2 separate regions of the Homo sapiens genome follow, and region 1 is linked to region 2. Evidence: promoter capture Hi-C in human tissues and cell types (Jung and others, 2019). All regions are on one chromosome and are shown on one strand. The core of a region is centred on a gene start or on the middle of the fragment in contact, and the rest is flanking DNA. Distances in the headings are between cores, read along the strand shown.

Region 1 (6,121 bases), core at 479-2,978, 1.3 Mb after region 2:
TCTTCCCAAGGGTTTCTCTAAAAACAAGGGATGCTGCAAGGAGACCCACACAGACTTTCCCTTATCTTATTTGCTGCATGGGGCAGGTAGAAAGACATCTAGGTTCTATTGGTGCTAGTAGGGGTGGTGGCGGGGATTCACCCCAGGCAGGCGGTTGTTCTGCCCGATGCCTGCCCAGGGCTAAGGCTTGTGGCCAGCACACTCCCCCATCAGGGCTCCCTTGAGTAACCTGAAGGTCCCCTGTGCTCAGGAGGATTGCTCAACCACTGAACTTCTACTATTATCATTAACAGTAACAAAACATAATCAATAATCCACAAAACTGCACTCCTAACTCCTTTCTTTCTGAAATCACATTCCTATCTAGGTTTAGGGAAAAAAAGACAGGAAAGTGTGTGTGAAGTTAAATATTTGTGTATCCACGTATGCATTCCGGTCACTGAAGAAATAAAGGATAGTATAAAACATAGATCCAACCCTCAGAAGCAATTTCAGAGTGGTGAGGGAGAGAAAAGAATCACAAAGGGCAAAGCAAGCCTGTGTGACCATCTCCAGAGTAATGTAGACAGAGGATGTAGGAACTCTGAGCACAAGTGGCTTTTTTCTCCCATCCCCAAGAGGGCGAGGAGGGACGAAGGAGCCAGGAGGGAGTCTGCTCAGCTGCACCGTTCCTAGCATGTGGCAGGTGCACAGCAAGTGTTTCTCCAAGGGAAGTAACAGGGCATCCAGGAAACTCTTACGCTCCCTCACTCTGAGCCATGTTGCTTATTTCCATACTGATTGACCTTAAAATGGATTTGTGTGCATGTGAAATTTGTCATGCTTACAAGAGGGTGTATAATGTACTTTTATAGCTCAAAGAAAAATAAATAACCATGGACCTGCCACCCATTTTAAGAAATAAAACATTTCCAAGCCCCTTGGATCTCCCTGGGAGCCCCACTCCAATCATTCTCTGTTCACTTTCTTCAGAGGTAATCACTGTCCTGAATCTCAATTGTCTATTACTTCTTTTCTTTTCTTTTTGTTTTTCCCTTCCTTCCTTCCTTCCTTCCTTCCTTCCTTCCTTCCTTCCTTCCTTCCTTCCTTCCTTCCCTCCCTCCCTCCCTCCCTCCCTCCTTCCTTCCTTCCTTCCTTCCTCTCTCTCTCTCTCTCTCTCTCTCTTTCTTTCTTTCTTTCTTTCTTTCTTTCTTTCTTTCTTTCTTTCTTTCTTTCTTTCGTTCGTTCTCTCTTTCTTTCTTTCTTTCTTGACAGTCTCGCTCTGTCACCCAGGCTGAAGCATGATCTTGGCTCACTGCAACCTCCGCCTCCTGGGTTGAGGTGATTCTTCTGCTTCAGCCTACTGAGTAACTGGTATTATGGGTGCCTGCCACCACACTTGGCTATTTTTTGTACTTTTAGTAGAGATGGGATTTCACCACATTGGCCAGGCTGGTCTCGAACTCCTGACCTCAAGTGATCCACCTGCCTCAGTCTCCCAAAGTGCTGGGATTGCAGGCGTGAGCAACTGCGCCCAGCCACTATTACTCATTTTCATTCACTTCAGAGTTTTACCACAAATGCATGTATCCCTAAGCTTTTGCTTATTTAGATTTGCCTGTGTTTTAAACTTACATAAACTTAATCATACTGCTACTTGCTTTTGATCTAATATAATGCTTTTGAGGTATATCCATGTTGATACATGTGGGAATAAAATATTTTTTATATTTAATATTTCATTGCTTGAATGCATCATAATTTATCCATTTTACTGTGGATGAGCATTTTGGTTGTTTGCAGTTTTGTTAGTGGAATAATGCTACTATAAACATTCTGTGTGTGTCTCCAGATGTGGGTGTGTGAGAGTTTCTCTAGAATACATACCTAGGGGCAGATTGATGCTTCACAGGTTTGCGCATCTTCAATTGTACTTAATAATGCTCATCTTCTTCCACAGTGGTCCTACCAATTTACTCTCTCACCAGCAGAGACTGAGAGCTTTTGTTGCCCTGAATCTTTAACCCTTCTTGTCAGACTTTTAAATTTGGTTCAATCTGGGCAGTATGAAATCTCATTATGGGTTTTGGTTGTATTCCCTCCCTAGTTACTAATGAGGTTAAAAAATGTTTTATATGTTTATTATGCATCCATGTTATTTATGTGAAATGCCTTTTGTTAAAGCCTTTTTTTTAGAGAATTATAGGATTTCTTTTATATTCTGGAAACTAGTTCTTGATTTACGTATTCTAAGTATCTTCTCTCAATTCATGGTATGTTTTATCTCTCTCTTTTAATGGTATCTTTTGATTTGAAAAAGTTCTTAATATTAATGTAATTAAAATTTTCAATATTCTGTTTATTTATTTATTTTCTTAGAAAGGGTCTCACTCTGTCACCCAGGCTGAGTGCAGTGGTACAATCACAGCTCACTGCAGTCTTGATCACCTATGCTCAGAAAATCCTTCTGCCTCAGCCTCCCCAGTAGCTGGCACTACAGGCACACACCACCACGCCCAGCTAATTTTTTAGTTTTTGAAGAGACAGGTGTCTTGCTCTTTTCCCCAGGCTAGTCTCGAACTCCTGGACTCAAGCGATCTTCCCTTCTTTTTTTTTTTTTTTTTTTGAGATGGAGTCTCACTCTGTCACCCAGGCTGGAGTGCAGTGGTGTGATCTCAGCTCACTGCAACCTCTGCCTCCTGGGTTCAAGTGATTCTCATGCCTCAGCCTCCCCAGTAGCTAGGATTACAGGCGTGCACCACCATGCCCAGCTAATTTTTGTATTTTTAGTAGAGACAAGGTTTAGCCATGTTGGCCAGGCTGGTCTCGAACTCCTGACCTCAAGTGATCCGGCCCCCTCAGCCTCCCAAAGTGCTGGGATTACAGTTGTGAGCCACCATGCCTGGCCTCCTTTTTCTTTTTTTTTTTTTTTTACTTTTCATATGAAAAATAAACTAGCACAGCTTTAATCATTTGTTAAACAATCCATTGATTTCCGCTGAGAGTGGGTACCAGCTATGTTTGGTTCCCATATTTGTGTGAGTCTTTTTTGCACCTTTATTCTATTCTGTTTGTCTACTTGTTTTCCCCGCTGGTACTACCACACTATCTTAATTTCTACTGCATTGTAGATTATTTCACCTGATTCTTCTTCAGAAGTGTCTTAGCTATTCTTGATCTTTTATTCTTCCATATAAATTTTAGGAGTCAAACCTGTTGGGATTTTGACTTGAATTCCATACAGCAAACAGACAAATTTAAAGAGAACAGATATCTTTTCAAGAGGGAGTGTTCTATCCATAACTTTGGCATATATTTCCATTTATTTAGGTCTTCTTTAAAGTGTTTAAAGAAAAGTTTCTAATTTATGGCATAAAGATAATAAATATTATGTATTAGATTTATTTTTAGATATAACATACGTTATTGTAACAATTTTTAAATTATTTTCTATTTTTATTGTTTTCTATTTTAAATTATTTTCTATTTTAAATTAAAACATAGCTTTAATTTTCCATGTACCTGTCTCAGAATTGTGTTTTTATTAGTTATCTATAACCCCATAATATTATAGCCAAAGAATGTGATCTGTATGATATTACTATGTTGAAAACTTTTGACACTTATTTTATAACCGTGGATACAACCAGTTTTTCTAAAAGTTTCACATATGCTTGAAAATGTGCGTGTTCTTCACTCATTAGGTATACTATTCCACATATCTCCATTAGATTAAGATTGTAGATTTTATTTTTCTAGTCATTTTGATAGTGCTGGCTGCTTGATTGATGAGTTTTTTGTTTTGTTTTGTTTTTTACGACAGGCTCTTGCTCTGTTGCCCAGGCTTGAACGCAGTAGCGTAGTCATGGCTCGCTGCAGCCTCGACCTCCCAGGCTCAAGTGATTCTCTCACGCTGACCTTCCAAAGTACTGGGATTACAGGTGGGAGCCACCACGCCAGGCCAATTGATCCGTTTTTTGAAAGAGTGTTAAAATCTCCCAGTATGATGATGAATTTTTTTATTTTTCCTTTTAGTTCTGTCATTTTGCATTGTTTGAATGTGAAACTTTTTTATTAGGTGCCCACGTATTTAGATCTATTATTTCTTCATGGTGAATTGAGTCTTTCCGTTATATGTAGTGACTTTCTTTATCTCTAATGATGCCTTTTAGCTTAAAGTCTATTTTGTCTGAAGTTAATACGGTGACTCAAATCTTCTTTTGATTAGTGCTTGTCTGAAATATATTTTCTTTTACTTTCAACATTTTCATGACCTTATGTTTTGGTGTGACCATTAAAAATAGCTTATAGCTGAAATTTTAAAAGTCAAACCTGACAATATTTATCTTTCAGTTGGAGGCTTCATTTTGTTTACATTTATTTTAGTTACACATTTAGATTCATGTCTATCATCTTATTTTGTAGGTTCTATTGGCTCTGTTTTCTTGTTTCTTCTCTTTTCTTACCTTCTTACGGACTTTTTTTCCAGCAGTATTTCATTTCTCATTCTCTCTATTATTTGAAAGTTAAATCTTTCATAAATATTTTTTAGTGGAAACTCTAGAAATTTTGGGGACTAATTTATCATAAGTCTAAAACTGATCAATTTTCACTCTCTTGAATAATATGAGGATCCTAGAACATTTTAACATCAATCACTTCTCATTTACAAACTATTATTGTAATGGATTTTAGATCTATTTTGATATTTTAAAACTATATATATTGTTATTTACATTGCTTTATATTAGTGTTTATCGAGATTTTACAATTTATCATTTAACCATTTTCTTTGCTCACCACTCATTCTTCAATCTAATTTCTTCTTTCCAGGATCAATAATTTTCCTCCCATCCAGAGAACATTTTTAAGAAGTTCCTGGAAGGAATTGTTGGTAATATTCTGTTTCTTATTTGTTTAAATATACCGTTTTTCTTTATTTTTCTTAAAAGATAGTTTTGTTACTTATATATTTCTAGATTCTTAGTTATTTTCTCTCAGTACATTGAAATAATTGTTTCACTATTTCTGGTTTCTGTTGCTAGTGTTGAGAATCTCTTGTCAACCTAATTGTCACCCGTTAGTATATAATTTGTCTCTTTTTTCTAATTGCTTATAAGATCTCCTTTGCCTTGGTGCTCTGGAGCCTTGTTAATATTTGTCTAGACAAGGATTTGATGTTATTCATTCTGCTTAGGATTCACTGGAAATTCTGAAACGGAGGTTCTTCAGGCTGCTATAACAAAATATAGCAGTCTCTTCAGGTGGCTATAACAAAATAACATAAACTGAGTGGCTTACAAACAACAGAAATTGATGTCTCACAGTTCTGGAGGCTGTGAAGTCCAAGATTGAGGTGCTGGCAGATTTGGTGTCTGGTAAGAACTGGGTTTCTGGAAGAAAGCTGTCTTCTCACTGTAACCTTACTTGTCCAGCCAGAGGGGAGAGTGATCTCTCTGGGGGTCTCTTTTATAAGGGACTAATCCCCATTAATGAGAACTCTGCCCCTATAATCTGAACACTTCCCAAATGCCCTACCTCCTAACACCATCGCCTTGGGGGTTAGGATTTCAACATGTGAATTTGAGGGGACATAAACAGTCAGTCCATTGCAGTGTCTTAGGCTAATTCTAGAAAACACTGTGTCAAGTGATACTATCAATTGTTTCCACAAGGAGTAAACTCATGGAGACCCACGGCCACAAGTAGACAACTGAAAGATGACATTGGGACTGCATCAGACTTCCCAGGAAGCTCTTTAGTCCAGATGCATGTGAACTCCCGAAAGCAGACTGTTGATTCAAGATCTGGCAAATAAAGACTTGATGAAGTATGTCTGAATTAACCAATGAAAGAAATAAAATGTGGTTATTTGTTTTAAATATTGTTGGCATTGTTTTGATATTCTGTTTTCTGATGGGCATATAAAGAGCCACTTTTGTTTCTTGATGTATTCCTAGTTCTTGATTTACTAGACTCTATTCTCACTAACTGAAACACTTTAAAAATAATATCCACCAGGTGCGGTGGCTCACGCCTGTAATCCCAGAACTTTGGGAGGCCTAGGAAGGTGGATCACTTGAGGTGAGGAGTTCAAGACAAGCCTGGCCAATAAGATGAAACCCCATCTCTACTAAAAATA
Region 2 (5,580 bases), core at 7-2,506:
CCCCCGCAACCAGCCACCAACCCCCGGCAGGGACCACAGGCACACGCCTCCGTCGGAAAAGTTGGGCAGACACTTCAGAACTTTTCTTTCACTTTGGGGAGAAGGAGGGAGTTGGAGAAGTGGGGGCGAGGGGTGTTAAAGCACTGGGCCATTCTCTGCAACATCTCCCCGCGCCCCCCAACAAGTTGCCCCTCCTCGTGCACACAGCGAGGTGACAGCGCAGGGCACCAAACTGCTGAGGGAAGGAGATGCCTGCAGCCATCTCAGCGGGGCTGGCGGACGCGACCCGACAGTCACCGGAAAAACAGTGGTGTCGGTCTTCCCCATCACCTCCCCTCCCCATCCCACAATAAAGCGCACGGAAGATGTCTGGGAGTACCTGGCCCTGCCACAGGAGCTGGGGAGGAGAGCGATCTCACCCCCTCCATCCCTCCCGGCAGGTGGGCCGCGGTCAGATACGTTTGGCCCGCAAGTCCTTTTCGGACACGTTGGCATCTGCTCCCAAAGAGCGCCCCAGCAGGACCCGGTCACCGGGGTCTTCCAGAGGGGCGGTAGCCACCGCACAGGAGCCAGCGGCATCCCCCAAGGAGCCGCAAGCCCTACCTGGCTTAACCCCCGGACATGTGTGTCGCTACCGATCGAAGAACCCAAACACCCCGAGATTTCCCTCCTCTAGGCAGGTGAAAACCCCACGGAACTCTCCGCAGCGCTGCCTGCCCAGCCGGCCGTGTCTCGCCGTCCCCGAGGCCTCGGGGGCTCCCAGCACCTCCACCCAAATCCCACCTGTGCGGGCTCGGGAGTCCGAGGGCGCTGACAGCTGCTGCCGCCGCATCCCGGATCTCCAAAGTGCGGCGGGAGCGGCCAGGGAACCTGCAGGACACCGCCGGGCCAAGGGGCTTGGGAAGGTCTGGGGGCCCCCGGCGCCGCACCCCTGCTTACCTGGCGTTCGCTGGGCCCCGGCTGGGGCATCCGCCTGGTGCGCGCCGCTCGGAGCGCTCGCTGCGCACCTGGCCGCTGCCGCCGCCCGCCCGGCCCCAGCCCTGGCCGCCGCGCTAGCGCTGCATGGCGCACGGGGGCTGGCCGGGGGCCCGGGGAAGCGTGTCTAGTTGGCGGCGGCACCTCCGGCTCTCGCGGCTCGCTAGTGGCTCCCCCGCCTTTCCCCGCCCCGCGTCCGTGCACCCTTCCTCTGCAGCCGCCCTTTTGCCTCCGCTCCGCCGGACCGGCCAAACTGGTTTCTCCGCTCGGGGAGGTGCCTCTGGTTTCCCTCCAGCAGCCGCGGCCGCCGAGCCTCGCTGGGGCTGGGGCTGGGGCTGGAGGCGGGCTCGGCCTTCTCCCCTCCCTTTTTCCCTCCCTAGGGCGGAGAGGGGCTGGACTGCAAGCCCCGGGGCGGCCCGAGGCGGCCCAGGTCCAGCTCCTGCCCCACGCCCTCCGTGCGTCCTGGAGTCAGGTGGGCACCCCTTTCAGTCTTCCGAGCCCAGCCTACGAGCCCTTGCCTCGCCCAGCCTGAGACCCAGTTGCTGCGGCTGCTCTTAGCTCCCCGGGGGCCGCACTCGCCACCACACCTCTCCAGCCCAGCGTCACTTTCCCGCTGCCCTTGGCTGGCTTGGCCGTCACCCCGGGTCGAGGACTGAGCCAGCCTGGAAAGCTGGCGGGGCCGCGGCGCGCCCGGGACCTGAGCTCCCTCGGTAAGGGGAGCTGTGTCCTCTTGATGCCAAGTCATGTTTGGGGACCGGTCACCGAATGCGCGTCAAAGTTCGCCGCGTGGAGGGTGAAGAAAGAGGCTGCGCCTCAAGACTTCCAGAAACGTATCCTGTGATTGCAGCCAGCAGGCTTTCTGCCGAGTCCAAACGCTATCGAGTTTTTTTGGGTTTGGAGTCAAAAGGAGTTAAGGTGCGGCCCGTGAACCACGCGGTGTAGGTGGAAATTTTGGACTCAGCGCCTCGTTGCTGGCTGGTGTCTGAGCGGGTGAATCGTGCCTCCCTGGCAGTATAGACATTACCCTCCTTCTTGAGTAGACTTTTGCCGCTCCCCGACTATGGACCGAGTCGTTGGGATAAGAATGGAGGAAAATCAAAGATCAGAGTTTGCTTAAAATGCAGTAGGGGAGCCAGGACTCCCACACGATTCCCAGTCACCTAGAGGCTCACATCTATGCCCAAGAGTCCAGACTCCCAACTGGGTCATCACAGAGGCTTCCTACAGGAGGCCGTGCTTGATGGGACTCAAAGATCCACAGCTTTAAGGATCAGAGTTGTGTAGAGAGGGTATTCAACGGGTGGCCAACTGGTAGAATCTTGTCTGATACCAACCCCGAGGCTGCTCTAGGCTTCTTTTTCATGAGTCAAACTTGATCTCTGACTAGGTGCTGGTCAGTCACTCAATCTATCCAGGCCTCAGTTTCCTCATTTGTAAAATGAGATTGGACCAGATGGTCTCTTCCAGCACTTATATTCTGAAGCTAACGACAGAACAAAGGTACCGATGCAAGAGAACATAGGGCCTGTTGGTGACACTGGTTGATCTAAGACATTTAGACTTGTTTTTGGTAGCACCTGCAAACCGTTGACAATTTAGGACCGAGCATGAGCATGATCAAGGTTGTGTTTTAGGGAAAATAATAGGGAGATAGTCTAGAGAGGATAAAACTGAAGATGGGAGAATCACTTGAGAGGCTGGGACAGCGACATACGGAGGAGTTGCCAGGGGAAGTAAAAAGGAGGAAATTCAAGGGACACCACAGAAGAGAGATAGGGCACGAAGTGGCCACAACCTGCAACTGACTGGGAGAGGGGAGCAATGGAAGGTGAGCCAGGTTCTCAAGACTGGGTTATGGCATGCAAGGAGCAGCAGACTCCAAAGGAGGGAAGCCGTTTAGGAAGACTCTGCCCCTATCTGGATAAATGCCAGCAAACCTAGGAATCAAGAGGGGATTCCAGACTAAAGGGGGCACCCCCTCCTTGCAGATCCACTACCAAGTGCTCAACCTGTCCAAGAAAATGTTACATAGAAGAGACTAAACAAGGACGCATCCAATCTACACCTGTACCTAGATCTGATCAATACCATTCTGATGTCTGCATTTATTTACTTGTTTATTTATTTATAGAGACAGGGTTGGGTTTCACTATGTTGCCCAGGCTTGTCTTGAACTCCCCAGTTCAAGCGGTCCACCTGCCTCAGCCCCCCAAGGTGCTGGGATTACAGTCATGAGCCACCACCTGTACTAAAAATACAAAAATTAGCCAAGCATGGTGGCGGGCGCCTGTGGTCCCAGCTACTCAAGAGGCTGAAGCAGGAGAATCAATTGAACCTGGGAGACTGAGGTGGCAGGCAGTGAGCCGAGACTGTGCCACTGCGCTTCAGCCTGGGCAACAGAGCGAGGCTCTGTCTCAAAATAAAATAATATTCTTTCATTCAACAAAGATTTGAGTGTGAGTGCCTACTGTGTGTCAGGCAGTTTTCTAGTTGCTTGGGTACATCTATGAGCCAATCAAATATCTTTTTTTTTTTTTTTTTTTAGACAGAGGCTCGCTCTGTTGCACAGGCTGGAGTGCAGTGGTGTGATCTCGGCTCACTGCAACCTCCACCTCCTGGGTTCCAGCAATTCTCCTGCCGCAGCCTCCCGAGTAGCTGGGGTTACAGGCACAGCCACCAGGCCAGGCTAATTTTTGTATTTTTAGTAGAGACAGGTTTCACCATGTTGGTCAGGCTGGTCGTGAACTCGTGACCTCATGATCCACCCACCTCAGCCTCCCAAAGTGCTGGGATTATAGGCGTGAGCCACTGCACTCGGCAAGTATCTTAAAAGGTGGCAAATGCTTTGAAAAAATAGAACAGGCTGGACTGGGAGAAGGCCCCTGAAGGAGCTGCCTTTTGGAGTGCTGTAAAAGTTATATTTCTTGATCTGAATGATAATTATACGAGTAGACGCATATGCAAGAATTCATTGACCTGTATGCTTAAGATTTATACATTAAAAAATAATAGACCAGGCACGATGGCTCACACCTGTAATCCCAGCACTTTGGGAGATCAAGGCAGGTGGATCATGAGGTCAGGAGTTCAAGATCAGCATGGCCAAGATGGTGAAACCCTGTCTCTACTAAAAATACAAAAAATTAGCCAGGCGTGATGGTGGGCATCTGTAATCCCAGCTACTGAGGAGGCTGAGGCAGATAATTGCTTGAACCCTGAAGGCAGAGGTTGCAGTGAGCTGAGATTGCCCCACTGCACTCCAGCCTGGGCAACAGAGCGAATAATAATACTACTACTAATAATAATTGAGCAGGATTAAGAGATTAGGATTTGGAGGATGAGTCACAATTTTAAATAATGTGGTCAGGGTAGGCTTCTTGAAAAGCTGCATTTGAAAAATGACTTGCAAGAAGGTAGAGTTTCATCTTTGATGAGACAAATCCTTTGAAAACCCATTTTGCATGGAACCCACCAGATGGAGGCATGTTAAAACCTTATCCTAGGCGCAGTGCCTCACGCCTATAATCCCAGCACTTTGCGAGGCTGAGGCCAGTGGATTGCTCGAGCCTAGGAGTTCGAGACCAGCCTGGGAAACATGGTGAAATCCCATCTCTACAAAAAATACAAAATAAAATTAGCTGGGTGTGGTGGCCCGCACCTGTAGTCCCAGCTACTCAGGAGGCTGGGGTGGGAGGATCCTTTGAGCCCAGGAAGTGAAGGCTGCAGTGAGCTGTGATTGCACCACTGCACTCAAGCCTGGGTGACAGGGCAAGACACTGTCTCCAAAAAAAAAATTAAAAAAAAAAACAAAACCAAAACAAAACACCCACACCCACACAACTCCACAACCTTATCCTAGAACACTTCCCCTATGTAAGTCTTCCTCATCTTAGGAAGGAGGTTCTCAGAGTGCATCAGCTGGTGTTGCTGATGAAGGAATTAGCTCACCTGGAAACCGACCTTGTCCTTTCTGAAAGAACCATGCCAAATTTTGGGGTGCCTTGTCAGGGCAATCACTGGAAGTGTCTCACATGCAACAATTTTAAAATGCATCTTACATGAGTCACTGAGAGATGACTTCTTTGTCCTGGCAGAGCCCTGATTCCACCAGCCTTGGCAGCCCTTTCTCAGCATTCTCAGATGGGATTGAATAAACACTCTGGTTTTATTTAGAAGTCACTCTCATTTAGTAACCAACGAGCTGCTGGGGGAAATCACGAAATGTAACAGAAATGGCCATTTCTTTTTATGTTTTATTTTTTATTATTTTTTTGAGACAGGGTCTCACTCTGGCACCCAGGCCAGAGTGCAGTGGTGACCATTGCTCACTGCAGCCATTGTGCCCAGAAATAGCCATTTCTAAAAGAGGGTAACAATGATTTTCAACTTTTGTAGTTCATAATTTCCTCTGTTTCTTTTTTCCCCCCTTTTCTTGGCAGCAGTCTTATGTACATTTGCATGATGTGGGTAGGAAAGCCAGGGAGGTTGCCAAGAGAGCTAGCTCAGTTTTACTGAAAATTTATTTCCTGGAATTTTTTTTTTTACAAGATAAGATAAGTGATAAAAGATATGTTTAAATGGAGGTGATACTGCTTGTATTCAGTT

The links. The method cuts DNA at HindIII sites, captures the fragments that hold promoters and counts their contacts. A contact is called where the count stands out against the background at its distance.
Region 1: a contact is called between a fragment that was not itself captured here and the fragment with the promoter of ATP8B1 in region 2, in 1 of the 25 tissues and cell types used here (mesenchymal stem cells).

The regions. Positions count from the first base shown.
Region 1 is chr18:59,101,381-59,107,501 of GRCh38, forward strand. No RefSeq gene overlaps it. Among named protein-coding and RNA genes, the nearest start is that of SEC11C, 35 kb to the right of the region's middle. The HindIII fragment of the contact is 4,499 bases long and covers 1-3,978 here.
Region 2 is chr18:57,802,059-57,807,638 of GRCh38, forward strand. ATP8B1 (ATPase phospholipid transporting 8B1) reads right to left here and starts at 1,257. Exons shown (of 28, transcript NM_001374385.1): 1 at 940-1,257. RefSeq lists an enhancer at 877-1,514. The HindIII fragment of the contact is 14,543 bases long and covers 1-5,580 here.